5 separate regions of the Homo sapiens genome follow, and all the other regions are linked to region 5. Evidence: promoter capture Hi-C in 16 types of primary human blood cells and fetal thymus (Javierre and others, 2016). All regions are on one chromosome and are shown on one strand. Each heading gives the region's core, a stretch centred on a gene start or on the middle of the fragment in contact. The rest is flanking DNA. Distances are from core to core; before and after follow the strand shown. Region 1 holds the start of ZNF835 (zinc finger protein 835). Region 2 overlaps ZNF329 (zinc finger protein 329). Region 3 holds the start of ZNF324 (zinc finger protein 324). Region 4 holds the start of ZNF497 (zinc finger protein 497). Region 5 holds the start of ZNF550 (zinc finger protein 550).

The links. Contacts are between HindIII fragments. The CHiCAGO score rates a contact against its expected background, and 5 or more counts as called.
Region 1: a contact is called between the fragment with the promoter of ZNF835 here and the fragment with the promoter of ZNF550 in region 5, in 9 of 17 cell types (neutrophils, monocytes, naive B cells and 6 more). The highest score is 9.4, in neutrophils.
Region 2: a contact is called between a fragment that was not itself captured here and the fragment with the promoter of ZNF550 in region 5, in 4 of 17 cell types (naive CD4 T cells, naive CD8 T cells, total CD8 T cells and 1 more). The highest score is 6.7, in naive CD4 T cells.
Region 3: a contact is called between the fragment with the promoter of ZNF324 here and the fragment with the promoter of ZNF550 in region 5, in 13 of 17 cell types (total CD8 T cells, non-activated CD4 T cells, neutrophils and 10 more). The highest score is 13.1, in total CD8 T cells.
Region 4: the fragment with the promoter of ZNF497 here is called in contact with the fragment with the promoter of ZNF550 in region 5 in 9 of 17 cell types (total CD8 T cells, non-activated CD4 T cells, naive CD4 T cells and 6 more); the score reaches 15.0 in total CD8 T cells.

Annotation. Positions count from the first base shown.
Region 1 is chr19:56,670,497-56,673,196 of GRCh38, forward strand. ZNF835 (zinc finger protein 835) reads right to left here and starts at 1,261. Exons shown (of 2, transcript NM_001005850.3): 1 at 1,080-1,261. It overlaps LOC105372473 (a long non-coding RNA gene), which reads left to right and starts at 1,483. Exons shown (of 4, transcript XR_936110.4): 1 at 1,483-1,935. The HindIII fragment of the contact is 4,177 bases long and covers 1-1,355 here.
Region 2 is chr19:58,129,530-58,132,229 of GRCh38, forward strand. The region is part of intron 3 of ZNF329 (zinc finger protein 329); the gene reads right to left. Among named protein-coding and RNA genes, the nearest start is that of ZNF329, 20 kb to the right of the region's middle. The HindIII fragment of the contact is 2,632 bases long and covers 20-2,651 here.
Region 3 is chr19:58,465,768-58,468,467 of GRCh38, forward strand. ZNF324 (zinc finger protein 324) reads left to right here and starts at 1,313. Exons shown (of 4, transcript NM_014347.3): 1 at 1,313-1,416. RefSeq lists enhancers at 1,044-1,660, 1,661-2,275, 2,694-2,700 and silencers at 1,303-1,352, 1,433-1,562. The HindIII fragment of the contact is 6,014 bases long and covers 1-2,700 here.
Region 4 is chr19:58,361,281-58,364,009 of GRCh38, forward strand. ZNF497 (zinc finger protein 497) reads right to left here and starts at 1,471. Exons shown (of 3, transcript NM_198458.3): 1 at 1,397-1,471. ZNF497-AS1 (ZNF497 antisense RNA 1) reads left to right here and starts at 1,346. Exons shown (of 3, transcript NR_136527.1): 1 at 1,346-1,472. It also overlaps the pseudogene RNA5SP473. RefSeq lists enhancers at 758-1,306, 1,036-1,165. The HindIII fragment of the contact is 6,825 bases long and covers 1-2,729 here.
Region 5 is chr19:57,558,415-57,561,114 of GRCh38, forward strand. ZNF550 (zinc finger protein 550) reads right to left here and starts at 1,449. Exons shown (of 4, transcript NM_001397372.1): 1 at 1,242-1,449. The coding sequence starts at 1,268. LOC124904781 (a long non-coding RNA gene) reads left to right here and starts at 1,528. Exons shown (of 2, transcript XR_007067357.1): 1 at 1,528-1,704. RefSeq lists enhancers at 491-570, 715-1,579, 1,021-1,070, 1,557-2,700, 1,701-1,810. The HindIII fragment of the contact is 1,240 bases long and covers 836-2,075 here.

The DNA of each region.
Region 1 (2,700 bases), core at 11-2,510, 890 kb before region 5:
CACACATGCACACAGGGTCCCGGGCACACGTAGCTACACACACACCCAGCCCCACACGTAGCTCCCTGTGTGAAGAGGTGCACAGAGACGCACAAGGTCACACATGCCACCTGCTCCACACAGGCCGGCCATTACTGGGACACACCCACAGGGGATGGCTGGACACATGTGCAGTCACACTCGGTGGATAGAGCTCCAGCATAGCCAAAGCCCACATGTGCAGCGTCTCCATCATGTGCAGATGCACACACTTCAGACAGCACGGCACTCTACAGGCTCGCACAGCCAGGTCACCCATCATTGTGCTGGCAGGCACACGGGCCGAGCCAGCCTACACGGCGGCACACCCAGACATGCACACGTGGGGTCACACACCTCACATCCAGGAGAACTTTCAGACTTGCCCAAAGGCAGCCACACGTGTATGTGACATGCTGTGATATGCAGACACCGCTTCACATGAACGAGCACATAACACACCGATAAAGTGTTACATGCCTTTACCTGCAGTCACCTGCCTGGGCTGGCACCACTGAGTGAGCAGGTGCAGACACAGTGACACTCGGGGACGGGCTCACAGGCAGTCACACACCTGCAAGGCCTGGCACCGCCGAGTGAGCAGGTACAGACACAGTGATGGGCTGGCACCGCCAAGTGAGCAGGGGCAGACGCTGTGACACTCAGGGACGGGCTCACAGGCAGTCACACACCTGCACCTGCTGGTACCGTCGAGTGAGCAGGTGCAGACGCTGTGACACTCAGGGACAGGCTCACAGCCAGTCACACACCTGCACGGCCTGGCACCGCCAAGTGAGCAGGTACAGACACAGTGACGGGCTGGCACCGCCGAGTAAGCAGGTGCAGATGCAGTGACAGGCTCACAGGCAGTCACACACCTGCACCTGCTGGTACCGTCGAGTGACCAGGTGCAGACGCTGTGTTACTCAGGGACGGGCTCACAGGCAGTCACACACCTATACGGGCTGACACCGCTAAGTGAACAGGTGCAGACACAATGGCACTCGGGGACGGGCTCACACGCGGTCACACACCTGCAGGAACACGCGCACACTACACACCGTTGCTCTCGCCTCCCGGTATCACCTTCGAACGCGCTGGCCGGCCCCCTCCTAGCCTGGTGCAGTCGGCTCCGCTTCTACTCAGTCTCGGGTCCTCCTGGGCCAACGCAGACCCTGGTGCCTCCTTCCTTAGACGAGCTAAGGTCAAGACTTCTGCTGCTGCGGAGGAGCCCGCGCACCAGGCCGGGGTGGACTGCGCCTGCGCATCGGGCCCGCCTGGTTCTTAGGAACTACGACTCCCAGGGGGCGCTGCGCGCTCGCCGGCACCGCGACTAAAGCTTGCAAAGCCTGGGTCATCGAAACTACAACTCCCAGAAGGCTAAGCGTCTGCACACGCTAGGTCCGCAGGGCGCTGACCCCTGGGGGCCCGAGGAGCGCCGGGCTGCTGCCCCGAGCCCCGCCCACTACAGCCTCAGTGCATGGCGGTGGGCGCTTCCAGTAACTCAGGGGTGGGACTTTTTTCTTGCTCAGGGGATGAGGCCGAGCCCACAGGCTTAGAAAGAAGGAACTTGAGTCCGGGCACCTGTCATCCCAGCGCTTAGGGAGGCCGAGGCGGGTGGATCACCTGAGGTCAGGAGTTCGAGACCAGCCTGGCCAATATGGCGAAACCCCCGTCTCTACTAAAAATACAAAAATTAGCCGAGCATGGTGGCATGCACTTCCAGCTACTTGGAAGGCTGAGGCGGGAGAATGGCTTGAACCTGGGAGGCGAGGGTTGCAGTGAGCTGAGATCGCACCACTGCACTCCAGCCTGGGTGACAGAGCGAGACTTCGTCTCAAAAAAAAAGAAGAAGAAAGAAGGAAGCTGAGGTTCAGACAGGCTAAGTCCCTACTGCAGGCTGCGGAATCTAAAAAGGTAGGTGCCAGGGTTTGCAACCCACACTTTTATTTTGGTCTCAGGTAGCTGATGTCATTCCAGTCTATGGCAAAGAAGGTGGCAAATCCATTAACATAGATGAAGAATTTCATTTTACTTTTTAGTTTTATTTATTTATTTATTTTTATTATGTATCATGCTTTTAATACAAACTTTAAAAAATCTGGAACAATAGAAACTGTACAGATTTGATCAATCTTTTTGTTTTGTTTTTAAACTAAAATCTCTAAACACACCAATGTCCTATTCCAAAATATTGCACAACATTCTGAATACAAAACCCTTGATTGTATTCCTCCTTCACTGAAGAAAAAACTTCATGACCCTGCTCCCCGGGCTCCTCTCCAGGCTTGCGTCAATGCCCCCTTCCCATCCCTAGGGAGAAAACTAGAGAATCTATAACTCACTGCATTGAGAAAAAGACATCATTCTGGACTAACAGTTTCCATTCTTCAGAAGATAATCCACCTTTTGATTTGTTCCTGGGAAACAGGGATAGATAGAGGATGGGGAAAGGGGAGAAAAGGTTTTATTTCTCCTCTTTTTTTTTTAAAGTTTGTTTTTCCTGAAAAAATATGTTTCTCTCATCTTTTTAAGAAAAAATCTTGAAAAGAAAAAAATTGTTTTTACGTTAGAAATATACATATATTATATATACCTCTTACATTTTACAAATGTAGCAAATTATTCAATACAAACGGACACCAAAAAATGTAAAAAATAAAAAAAAGTTTTCCTAAGAAC
Region 2 (2,700 bases), core at 86-2,585, 570 kb after region 5:
TGCAGACTTAGGTATATGAAGCTTTATCTGTAAGAGAAACAGACAATGATGATGGGCTAGGTGTAAAGATGTGTATTTTTTTACTTGTTTTCTCTTTTAAATTCAAATTTATACAAGGAAGAGGTAAAATCGTAGCCAAGGAATGGAACCAAGAACAGATTCAAAAAGAGCCATGTAGCATTTTCATCTTCCTAGAGAGCAGGCAGGAGGAATGGACCTCGGGATAAATCATCACCAAAAGGATTAGTTTGAGATGTGAGAGACCAGAGGCCAAGCATCCCTGCTCCCCCTAGAATTCCATCCCAGCCACTGCATTCTTGTCCCTGTCACACACTGCCCATCAGTACACATTTCCAAAGCTCTGACTTCACAATGAGCTTACAACAGCACTGAAGGAACAGTTCTCACCCCAGCTCTGTCATCAAAGTTCTGCATTCATGGATAGGACAAAGCACAGGCTTGGTGACCTAAAAGTTCTGGGTCTAAGTCTTAGAACTGTCAATGACCTGGCGGGGCACAGTGGTTCACTCCTGTAATCCCAGCACTTTGGGAAGTGGAGGCAGGTGGATCATTTGAAGTCAGGAGTTCAAGACCAGCCTGACCAACATGGTGAAACACCGTCTCTACTAAAAATACAAAAAAAATCAGCCAGGCGTGGTGGCACATGCCTGTAGTCCCAGCTACTCTGGAGGCTGAGGCAGGAGAATCACTTCAACCTGGTAGGCAGAGGTTGCAGTGAGCTGAGATCACACCACTGCACTCCAGCCTACGCGGCAGAGTGAGACTCCATCTCAAAAAACAAAACAAAACAAAAACTGTCAAAGACTGCCCTGCATGGTTGTTATAAAAACTGGATCATGTCGGCCAGGCGCGGTGGTCACGCCTGTAATCCCAGCACTTTGGGAGGCCGAGGTGGGCAGATCACAAGGTCAGGAGATTGAGACCATCCTGGCTAACGTGGTGAAACCCCGTCTCTACTAAAAAAATACAAACAATTAGCCAGGCGTGGTGGCGGGCGCCTGTAGTCCCAGCTACTCGGGAGGCTGAGGCAGGAGAATGGCGCGAACCCGGGAGGCGGAGCTTGCAGTGAGCCAAGATCGTGCCACTGCACTCCAGCCTGGGCCACAGAGCAAGACTCCGTCTCAAAAAAAAAAAAAAAAAAAAACTGGATCATGTACAAAGCAGTCTCCAAGGCTAGGGGATGAAGGGCATTCTGTAAATGGTTGCATGTGTCTTCATGCATATCAATCTTCCTGTCACCATCCTTGTCCATTCAGACTTCACAATATTAAGACAACTGGTTGTCCATTCATTCGTTCATTCATTTGGTGGGATCGGGTCTCGCTCTGTCATTCAGGCTGAAGTGCAGTGGTGTGATCTTGGTTCACTGAAGCCTCAATCTCAAAAACTTCAAGCAATTATCCCACCTCAGCCTCCCAAAATGCTGCAAATACAGGGATGAGCCATTGTGCCCAGCCTTCTTTCTATTTTTTAAGGTAAAATGAAAATAGACCCTTGCCTCAGAATACATACATACATATATGTCTACATTCTAGGCAATTTAAATATATATACATGTATATGTGTATATGTGTGTGTGTGTGTGTGTGTGCGCGTGTATTTACATTTCAGAAGGATACAGGCTGCAACATAAAGTCAAAGTTTAAATAATGTAGTATGCCTTCATAAGTGTGGCAGACTTTGATCAACAAAACTTAACCAAAAAACCATATGGCCAAGCATTGGGGGTCATGCCTGTAATCCCAGCACTCTGGGAGGCTGAAGTGGGAGTTATCACTTGAGCCCACACAGAAGGCTGAGGCTGCAGTGAGCTGTAATTGTGCCACTGCATTCCAGATTGGGCAAAAGAGACCATGTCTTAAAAACAAAAAACAAAAACCAAAAAATAAAAAACAGACAAGGATTAAGAAGTCTGATATCAGCATTCAAATTTTCCATCCAATAAAAGACACAATAAGAGACAAAATGCAAGTGGCAGATAGGGAGAAAATAGGACTTAAAAGCACAAAGAATTATTGCCCAAGAGCTATAGAGGATTCTTACAGAGAGAAAATAAGATTTAAAAGCACAAAGAATTACTGCCCAAGAACTACAGAGGATTCTTACAGAACAGCACATAAAAAGAAAAAAAATGGGCAAAGTAATCAAAGAGCACTTCGTGAAGGGAAAATAGAAATGTCCTGAAAACATTGGCTGGGAGCAGTGGGTCACGCCTGTAATCCCAGCACTTTGGGAGGCTGAGGCAGGTGGACCACAAGGTCAGGAGATCGAGACCATCCTGGCTGACACGGTGAAACCCCGTCTCTATTAAAAATACAAAAAATTAGCCAGGCGTGGTGGCGGGCGCCTGTAGTCCCAGCTACTTGGGAGGCTGAGGCAGGAGAATGGCATGAACCCGGGAGGCAGAGCTTGCAGTGAGCCGCGATAGCGCCACTGCACTCCAGCCTGGGCAACAGGGCGAGACTCTGCCTCAAAAAAAAAAAAAAAAGAAAGAAAAAAAAGAAATGTCCTGAAAACATCAATATTTATTTTCTCATTCTATCATTCAGGCAATTCCAAACTGCGACTTTAAGAACACAAAATATACACATTTCACGTGAGTAAAAATAAAATGAAGTACAATAATATAAAGCTTTGGTAGGTCACAAGGGAAGAGGGCTTGGAAAGTGGTCAGCGTGC
Region 3 (2,700 bases), core at 63-2,562, 910 kb after region 5:
TTTCAAAGTAGCAAAATTTATATTAAAACATTCCAAACATGATGAGCTCCCTTGCTCTACAAGGATTTACAAGTAGAATCAATTAGGTGGACAGTTATAGCTGACAGTTGACAGAGAGATAGTTATAGATGGAGGTAGGTATAGAGGGAGGGAGGCAAAAAGAGTTAAGGAACTGGACAGCTGAGAACTGTCTACAGGTTCCAAAAACAAGACAAAGAACCTTTTATTATCTGCCAAACAAGACAGTCTACATTGAGACTGCTCTGCCTTTCGTTTTTATGTGTCAAAGACACTTAAATTGGCCTGTAATCCCAGCACTTTGGGAGAACGAGGTGGGCGGATCACCTGAGGTCAGGAGTTCAAGACCAGCCTGGCCAACATGGTGAAACTCCATCTCTACTAAAAAATACAAAAATTAGCCAGGCATGGTGGCGCACACCTGTGGTCCCAGCTACTACGGAGGCTGAGGCGGGGGGATCACTTGAACCTGAAGGCAGAGGTTGCAGTGAGCCGAGATTGTGCCACTGCACTCCAGCACGGGCAACAGAACAAAGACCCTGTTAAAAAAAAAAAAAAAAAACTTAAATGAGTCCCAAGAAAAAAGGAAAAAAGAATGAATATTGTGATGTGTGGGGCAAGACAAGATCTAGATGGTCTAAGGACAAGCAAATCTGGGGAATTAACTTCTGCCCATCCAAATTACAAGGAAAACAGATGCTTTGGGCAAGTGTCGAGGAACAGTCTCATACTTAAGACAAATGTAGGCTTACGGGCTGAGAATTCTTGGTGTAAAGGTTGAAAACGGACCTTAAACCTTTACGGGACATTGACACAGAGAGGTCAAACCCGCGCCCAGGACGCACAGTCAGTGAGAGGCAGAGCTGGGAAGGGAACCCGGAGCTCCAGGCATCGGCTCCTCCACCTCCACCTGCGCTACCCGGTGCATTTTCTCCTCCGTGCTCACTGCTGGTGTTGCCTCTTGGAACCTCGGCAGTTTCTGCTTTCGCACCTGCAGGGTTTAGTCTCCGGGACTGCTTGGGAGGACACCTGGAATGCCGAAGGCAGGACTACACACCGGGCGAATCCACCAGCGCCACCAAGCCCTTGAAAACCCGAGGCCGCCGCGCGACTCCATTTCCCAGCGCCCCGCGCGGCAGGGGCTTGGACGTTGCCAAGGAGACCGGTAGTGGCCCCGCCTCCACGCAGGGAAACAGGCGGGAACCACGTGACCCGGAAGGCTGTACGCAAGCGTCCGCGGCGCGCACTGGGCCAATGAGAACCGAAGGGCTGGACTTCCGGCGGTGGGACTGTCACTTCGCCGCCCGCGTCAGGCCACACCGGTGGTCTGGGCTGGGGACCGCGGGTCGGGTCCGGTTTCCAGGGGGTTCCTGGTGCTCGAGGCTGGCGGCGAGGAAGGTACTGGCTGAGGGCCCGCGTCGGGCCCGCCCTGCGCACGCGTCGTGATCAAGGGCGCCGGCCGCCGGCCGCGCCCCCAAGCCTCTGTTTCTCAGAGTGCGTCGTGGGCGTCCAGGGGACTGTCGGGCCGCGGCGGGAGCCATGCGCTCTCCCACCGTGCGGCAGCCCAGGAGGCTGCGCGCTGGGCGTTCCACGTCCATGATGGCCGGGGAGACTGAGGCGCGGGGCGGCCCCGGGACGCTGCTGGCGGGGAAAGGCTGGGTGGTCCACGCCTTTCTTCCCTCCCAGCTGCGGGTTCCGCTGGCGGCGGTGGCGCTGACAAGCCCGCGTCGGGGAAGCAGGGGAGTCCCTGCTCACACAGACCGCGCCCTCACGGAGGGAGGCCGCTTCCTAGACCTCGCCTAGTCGTCTTTCCTCTCCCTGCCCTGGGGGGGTTGCGGGGGTCAGTGCAAACTCCTGCGTCCAGGGCACTGGTGAGCTCCCGAGTTCGGGCAGCCAGGGGGCTGAGGTCCCGAAGGAGGCTCCGAGGGGAGAGTCCTGCGTGTGCAAAACCTGGGAGGGGAGCCGAAGCCCAGGTGCTTCTGGGACTGAGCTCTCTCGATGTGGAGCTGGAGTAGAGGGGATGTGTGCGGCTGCAGTATCAGGCGAGGGAGTGGGCTTTATCTCGAGGGCGTCGGGAGACATAGAAGTTTTGAACAGAATCAGGACATCCTCTGAGGACTTTAAAACGGTTCCACCGTTTGTTGCGTGGAGAACAGACATGCAGGGGTGTCGGCATGAAGGGAAGAACCGACTGCCACAGTCTGGGCAGCAGTGGAGGTGGGCGACCAGGTGAATTCTGGTGGATCTGCGGATGCATCAGGTGTGGGCTGTTTGAAGAACTAAGTACCCCATGTTGTTCAGCCTGAGCGCCTGGAAGAAGAGAGCTGCTGTAGATAGAAAGGAGAATTGAAAGGAAAGCAGGTTTCCTTCAGGGGAAAGATCAAGAGTCTGGGATGTCCCAGGTTGGTCATGTCACTGGACCTGACGTTGTTGGCGTCCTGGGCTGTGGACAGGGCCTATGAATTGGACTGAGGAATGGGCAGGGACTCAGCCAGGTGTGGGCAGTTATGGCTTGAGGGTAAAGAAGACCAGCTGGGATGCCTGGGGCTATTGGGAAGAGCCTAGCACCTAACTGAGGAGGGGAGGGTGGCAACAGAGAGGGGAAGAAAGGGGACACCGGGTGAAAGGAGGAAGGGATTGAGTTCCTCTGTGTTCACAGGTTGTTGAGGCTGCTCCCCTGTG
Region 4 (2,729 bases), core at 221-2,720, 800 kb after region 5:
CTGTAAGGGCAACACGGGGATCCTTCGTGATGGAAATATTCTGCATCTCAGTTGTGATATTGTACTCTAGTTTTTCTTTCTCTTCTCTTTTTTTGAGACAGAGTCTCGCTCTGTTGCCCAGGTTGGAGTGCAGTGGCGTGATGTGGGCTCACCGCGACCTCCGCCTCCTGGGTACAAGCGATTCTCCTGCCTGAGACTCCCGAGTAGCTGGGATTACAGGCACCAGCCTCCACACCCGCCTAATTTTTGTGTTTTCAGTACAGATGGGGTTTCACCATGTTGCTCAGGCTGGTCTTTAACTCCTGAGCTCAAGGGATCCACCCGCCTTGGCCTCCCAAAGTGCTGGGATTACAGACATGAGCCACCGCACCTGGCCTCTAGTTTTTCAAGATGCCACCTTTAGGGGAATTGGGTAAAGCGTACATAGGGTATGCATTACTTGTTACTGCATGTGAATTTATAATTACCTCAAATCAAAAGTTAAATTTTAAAAAAACGACATCTGATTTCAATAAAAATCCATATTTGTGTATTGAAGTATCAGAAATCCGGGTCCCCCAAGGGCCCATGTTTCTTAAGGCGGAGCCAGGCACCGCTGCCCCTCCATCCTGTGGTGTGCGACCCCGACCCGCCAGCCCCCAGCCGCATCTATCAGGGCTGCCGTCCTGAGTCCGTCCTCGTCGTGGGATAGCATGTGAGCCCCGTAAGGTCCTTCCTGTCGGCCTCACTGCTCCAGCCTCCCCGACGTCCTCACGTCCACGCTGCGTGCCCTTTCTGAGCCTCAACGCCTCCTCCTCACCTCGACATGATCAGAGCCACCTCCCGCGTCAGTCCCAGCGCCCACGCCCCCAACAACGGGCACTTGTCCGACCAGTCACGGGTACTTGTGTCTCCCCCACAACCCCCAAGGCCTAGGCTGGACAAACAAATACGGAGTGGATAAAGGGGAGGAAGCTGCGGCCAGGTGGCGCGAGGCCTGTGCGGGCAGCTCCGGAGGCTGGGAGGCGAGCCCAGCCTGGTGAGCTCCGAAACTACCCGGGGCTGGGGACTGATGAACGAATAAATGAATGTGGGAAGAAATGATGGCGCGGCAGGGCATGAGTGAATGAGTGAAAGAATAAACGAGCAGGAGGAACGATGCCACAGAACTGATCGCCATAAGGCTCGCGTTCACCGAGAGAACAGCAAACGGGAGCCATTTCCGTCCCGACCACGGTCGCCTCTGGCCCGTGCAGGGCCACTTCCGGGCCGCTCTGGACGGCGCGGAGGCCTATCTCTCGGTGGTCCCAGAGGGCCCAGCTCAGGGCCGAGGCCCGTCCTGCCCCGCGCGGCGGGAGTGGTTGGAGCCGGAGGGCGGATCTGTGCCTGGCCGAGGGTGTCCGTCGGCGTCACTCACCGTCCTCGGCCCGCCTCTGCGTCCACTAGGAGCGGCCTGAAAGAGGCCCGCACGCGGGCTCGAGCCGCGTGGAATGGTAGGAGGGCGGGCACCGGGTCTCCTGGGGGCGCGGTTGCATTCGGCAGAGCGGCCCAAGGCGTCGCGTTTCTCCCCACTGCGCCTGCGTAACTATGCCGCGGCTGCGGGCGCGCGCCTTCTGGTTCCCATGGGGACGGCGCCACAGCCAAGCTACTCGGGCGTCCTGCGTTGCCATGGATGCGCTCCGCCCCTTCCTGCACCCGGCCAGCCTCTGCGGCACACACCCAACAGCTACACAGGCGCCTGGGGCTGCCCGGGTCGCGGACGCAAGTCGGGCCAACGTAGCTTCTCCCTGGCGGTCCTCCTCCGGCCCCAGGCCGTCTTTACCACCCTGGAACCTTGCTGAGTTGACGCCACTGAGCTGCGTCTCACACCCACGCGCTGTGGAACACCCACCAAGCTGGAATCCACGCGGTTTTTAAAATAGAGTCGGGGGCCGGGCGCGGTGACTCACGCCTGTAATCCCAGCACTTTGGGAGGTCGAGGCGGGCGGATCACGAGGTCAGGAGATCGAGACCATCCTGGCTAACACGGAGAAACCCCGTCTCTACTAAAAATACAAAAAATTAGCCGGGCGTGGTGGCGGGCGCCTGTAGTCCCAGCTACTCGGGAGGCTGAGGCAGGAGAATCGCTTGAACCTGGGAGGCGGAGCTTGCAGTGAGCCGAGATCGCGACACTGCACTCCAGCCTGGGGCGACAGAACGAGACTCCGTCTCAAAAAAAAAAAAAAAAAATTGAGTCGGGATCTCAGAAGCTAAGCAGGGTCGGGCCTGGTTAGTACTTGGGAGACCGTCTGGGAACACCGAGTGCTGTTGGCTAAAATAAATAAATAAACCGGGCGCGGTGGCTCACGCCTGTAATCCCAGAACTTTGGGAGGCCGAGGCGGGCAGATCACGAGGTCAGGAGTTCGAGACCAGCCTGACCAACATGGTGAAACCCCGTCTCTACTGAAAATACAAAAATTAGGCTTGTTGGCGTGTGCCTATAATCCCAGCTACTCGGGAGGCTGAGGCAGGAGAATCGCTTGAACCGGGGAGGCAGAAGTTACAGTGAGCTGAGGTCGTGCCACTGCACACTCCAGCCTGGGTGACAGAGCAAGACTCCGTCTCAAAAAACAACATAGACCAGATGCTGTAAGCTAAAATAAATGAATAGCTAGAGACGGGGTCTCGCTATATGGCCCAGGCTGGTCTTGAACTTCTGGGCTCAAGTGATCCTCCCACCTTGGCCTCCCAAAGTGCTAGGATTACAGAC
Region 5 (2,700 bases), core at 199-2,698:
GGAAATGTGATGAGAGTCCCTATAAGAGAGGCCTATTCAATCATCAACCATTTATTAAGTACAATAAATGTACTTAAGCCTGGCTGTTCTGGGTCTTGGGAGAGGGAAGCAACAGGCACTCACATTCCAGGGTTGGAAAAAGATCCTAAACAGGCAACTAAATAAATGAGTAAGGCAATGTCAGATGGCCTTAAAGATTCAGATGACAAGAAAACAGAGCAAGGAGACCAAAGAGACTCTGGTCAGCTTTAAACGGTGCAACAGACGAGACCTCTTTAAGCAGCGGACACCAGAGGGAGTCAGAAATAAAGCAAAGGAGGGAGAGGTGGATGAGAAATTAACAACTACGACAGGAGCTGACAGTAATCTGGGCTATCATGAAAGTAATCAGAGTGACTGCTAGAGAGTAACCCTGGGCCTCATGTGTTATCTCCAAAGGGACACTACATCCTGCATACCATCGCCACTGAACATTTTAATGGACTCGTTTTTCACCTGTAACTAAATGTCTTAAACAGGAAAATATACTGTTAGTTGCAACCCAGCGTCCCTTGCCCTAAACTGAAAGACAAATTCCTCAGCCTGCCCTACCACCTTTTCTGCCCTGGCATAGCAGCAACCGCAGAAACGCTCCTCCCACCTCTTTCAGCCGCTGCCCTTCGTGTTGTAGAGACAGGAGGCCAAGGAGGCCAGAGGGTCAGACTCCTGCTGGGGTTGAGTCTCCAAACCTAGCACAGGCCCAGGGAGCAGCTCCGGAAACAACATCCTGAGCGACGTCCCCGGACCGTGCTGTGCACTGAGACGGACACACACACATCACCCAGGGAGCCGTTCAAGCTTCCTCAACCCCGGGGGGGGGAAGAGTAAATATTTCTACTTTGCGCGCGCAAAAATGAAGGACGAGGACAGTAACGGGACTTGTTCAAGGTCGCAGGCCCGAGAAAGGACATGGTTGGAAGAGCCACGAGGAGGACTGCGGTCGCTCCTCTCACCTGTGAGGGGTTCCGGGACCCTAAAAGCCCTATTTCATACCACAACGCCGCGCACCCCAGAAACGGGGACGCTCCCCACGCCACCGCGGGCCTGCATTCCGGACCCGGGACCGCGCGACCCCCTTCTAGGCCTCTAAGAAGCAACGGCAGGGACTGCACTGAGGACGACCCTGAAACGCCGTCCTTCCGCTCGTCGGGCCCGGGACACTGAGGCCGGGTGGCCGCGGGGAGCCGAGCCAGTCTGCTCACCTGCGCTGCGTCCTTCGTCTCCGCCATCCGACCGTTGGCAGGACGAGGCCGCGTGGGGCAGCTCCCACGGGCTCAAAACCCTACCCCGGGTCCTACAACGGTGCGGAGGTGAGCCCCAGTCGCCCTACCATCCTTCCCAGCACAGTTCTGAGAGCGCGGACCAACACGCCCCACCACAAACGTCCACGCCAGCGAGGCCGGAAGTCCCGCCCCTGTGTCGCGGTCGCCTGCCACGCCTTTTCCTGCGCCGGCCCACTGCCTTCTAGGTAATGTAGTCTTGTCCCGTAAGAGGCCAGGCTTGGCTCTTTTTCCTTTTTTATTATGCACACCATGTTTCTGTATATCTCAGATGATCTTAGCGGAGCAAGTGTACACACTGGATTGTAAATTTTTAAAACTTCCTATTATTCGGATGCCTCAACGTCCCTACAAGCAGGCTGTGAGCACTCGCCCAGGCACCCAGGTAAACGAGTTTGATAAAGGGGGCCCTGCCACGAGGTTCCCCGCTTGCCTCCTCTGAGTGACCCAGTGACATTCCCATGTACCAGTAAAATCTTACGCCTGGTTACTGCGTCCTCCTCCACCCTGACGCCAGGCACTGTCCCTGGGACTGGCGTGGATCTGGACCCCCGCTTCCCGCGTGGAGCCATTCCCGGGACATGCTCGTGGGGTTCCGTCTGTGGGACGTCTGCCTCCTCTGTGTGGACTGGTGTTGCCCAGGGCTCAGGAAGGTCTCCAGGGGCCGTGAGTCCCCGCCCGCTTCCGGAGTCCAGCTTCGTGACACCATCGTGAGAAAGAATGCAGGGATGAGTCAAAATGAAGCCAAAGGCAAGAAGCTTTTATTGGGAAGAAAAAGTACACATTTTTGAGAAGAGTGTACTTTTCCCAAGAGAAGAGGGAAATGCGGACGTACGAGGGAGAGCGGGTCATGCACAATGGAGTTTGGGTTTCTAATTTTATGGGCTCTTCTAATTAGGGGGTGGGATAATCATGAGGTTTTTCTAGGAAAAGGTGGGAATTTCTTAGAATTGGGGTGCCAACCATTTTTATACTAAATGTGGGCGTGCTTGGATTGGCCTGGCACTGGTGGGTGTGTGATTTAATGTGGCAATGAGTGTATAATTAGGTCTGGGGTAGGAAATGGGTCAAATCTAGCGTCATGGGACAGCCTAGCCCCAATCCTGTTTGTTAAGGTCTCATCAGCCCAGTCTTCTTGTTGGAGTAGCTAATTTTAACAGCTTGATGTTTTCCCCCTTCTCCTGTGACCACACAGCATTCCTATTTTGTGGGTGTTTCTTTAATTAGAGAGTGGAATAATTATTAGGTATTCTGGAAAAGGAGGGAAATTCAGGGACCCACCTGGTTACTGCCCCCTTTCTCTCTTATTTGGCTTTGCCCAGAAGAGTCATGGACATGTCATCCTGACTGGGATTTTGGCCATTCTTTCTCTTATTTTGGG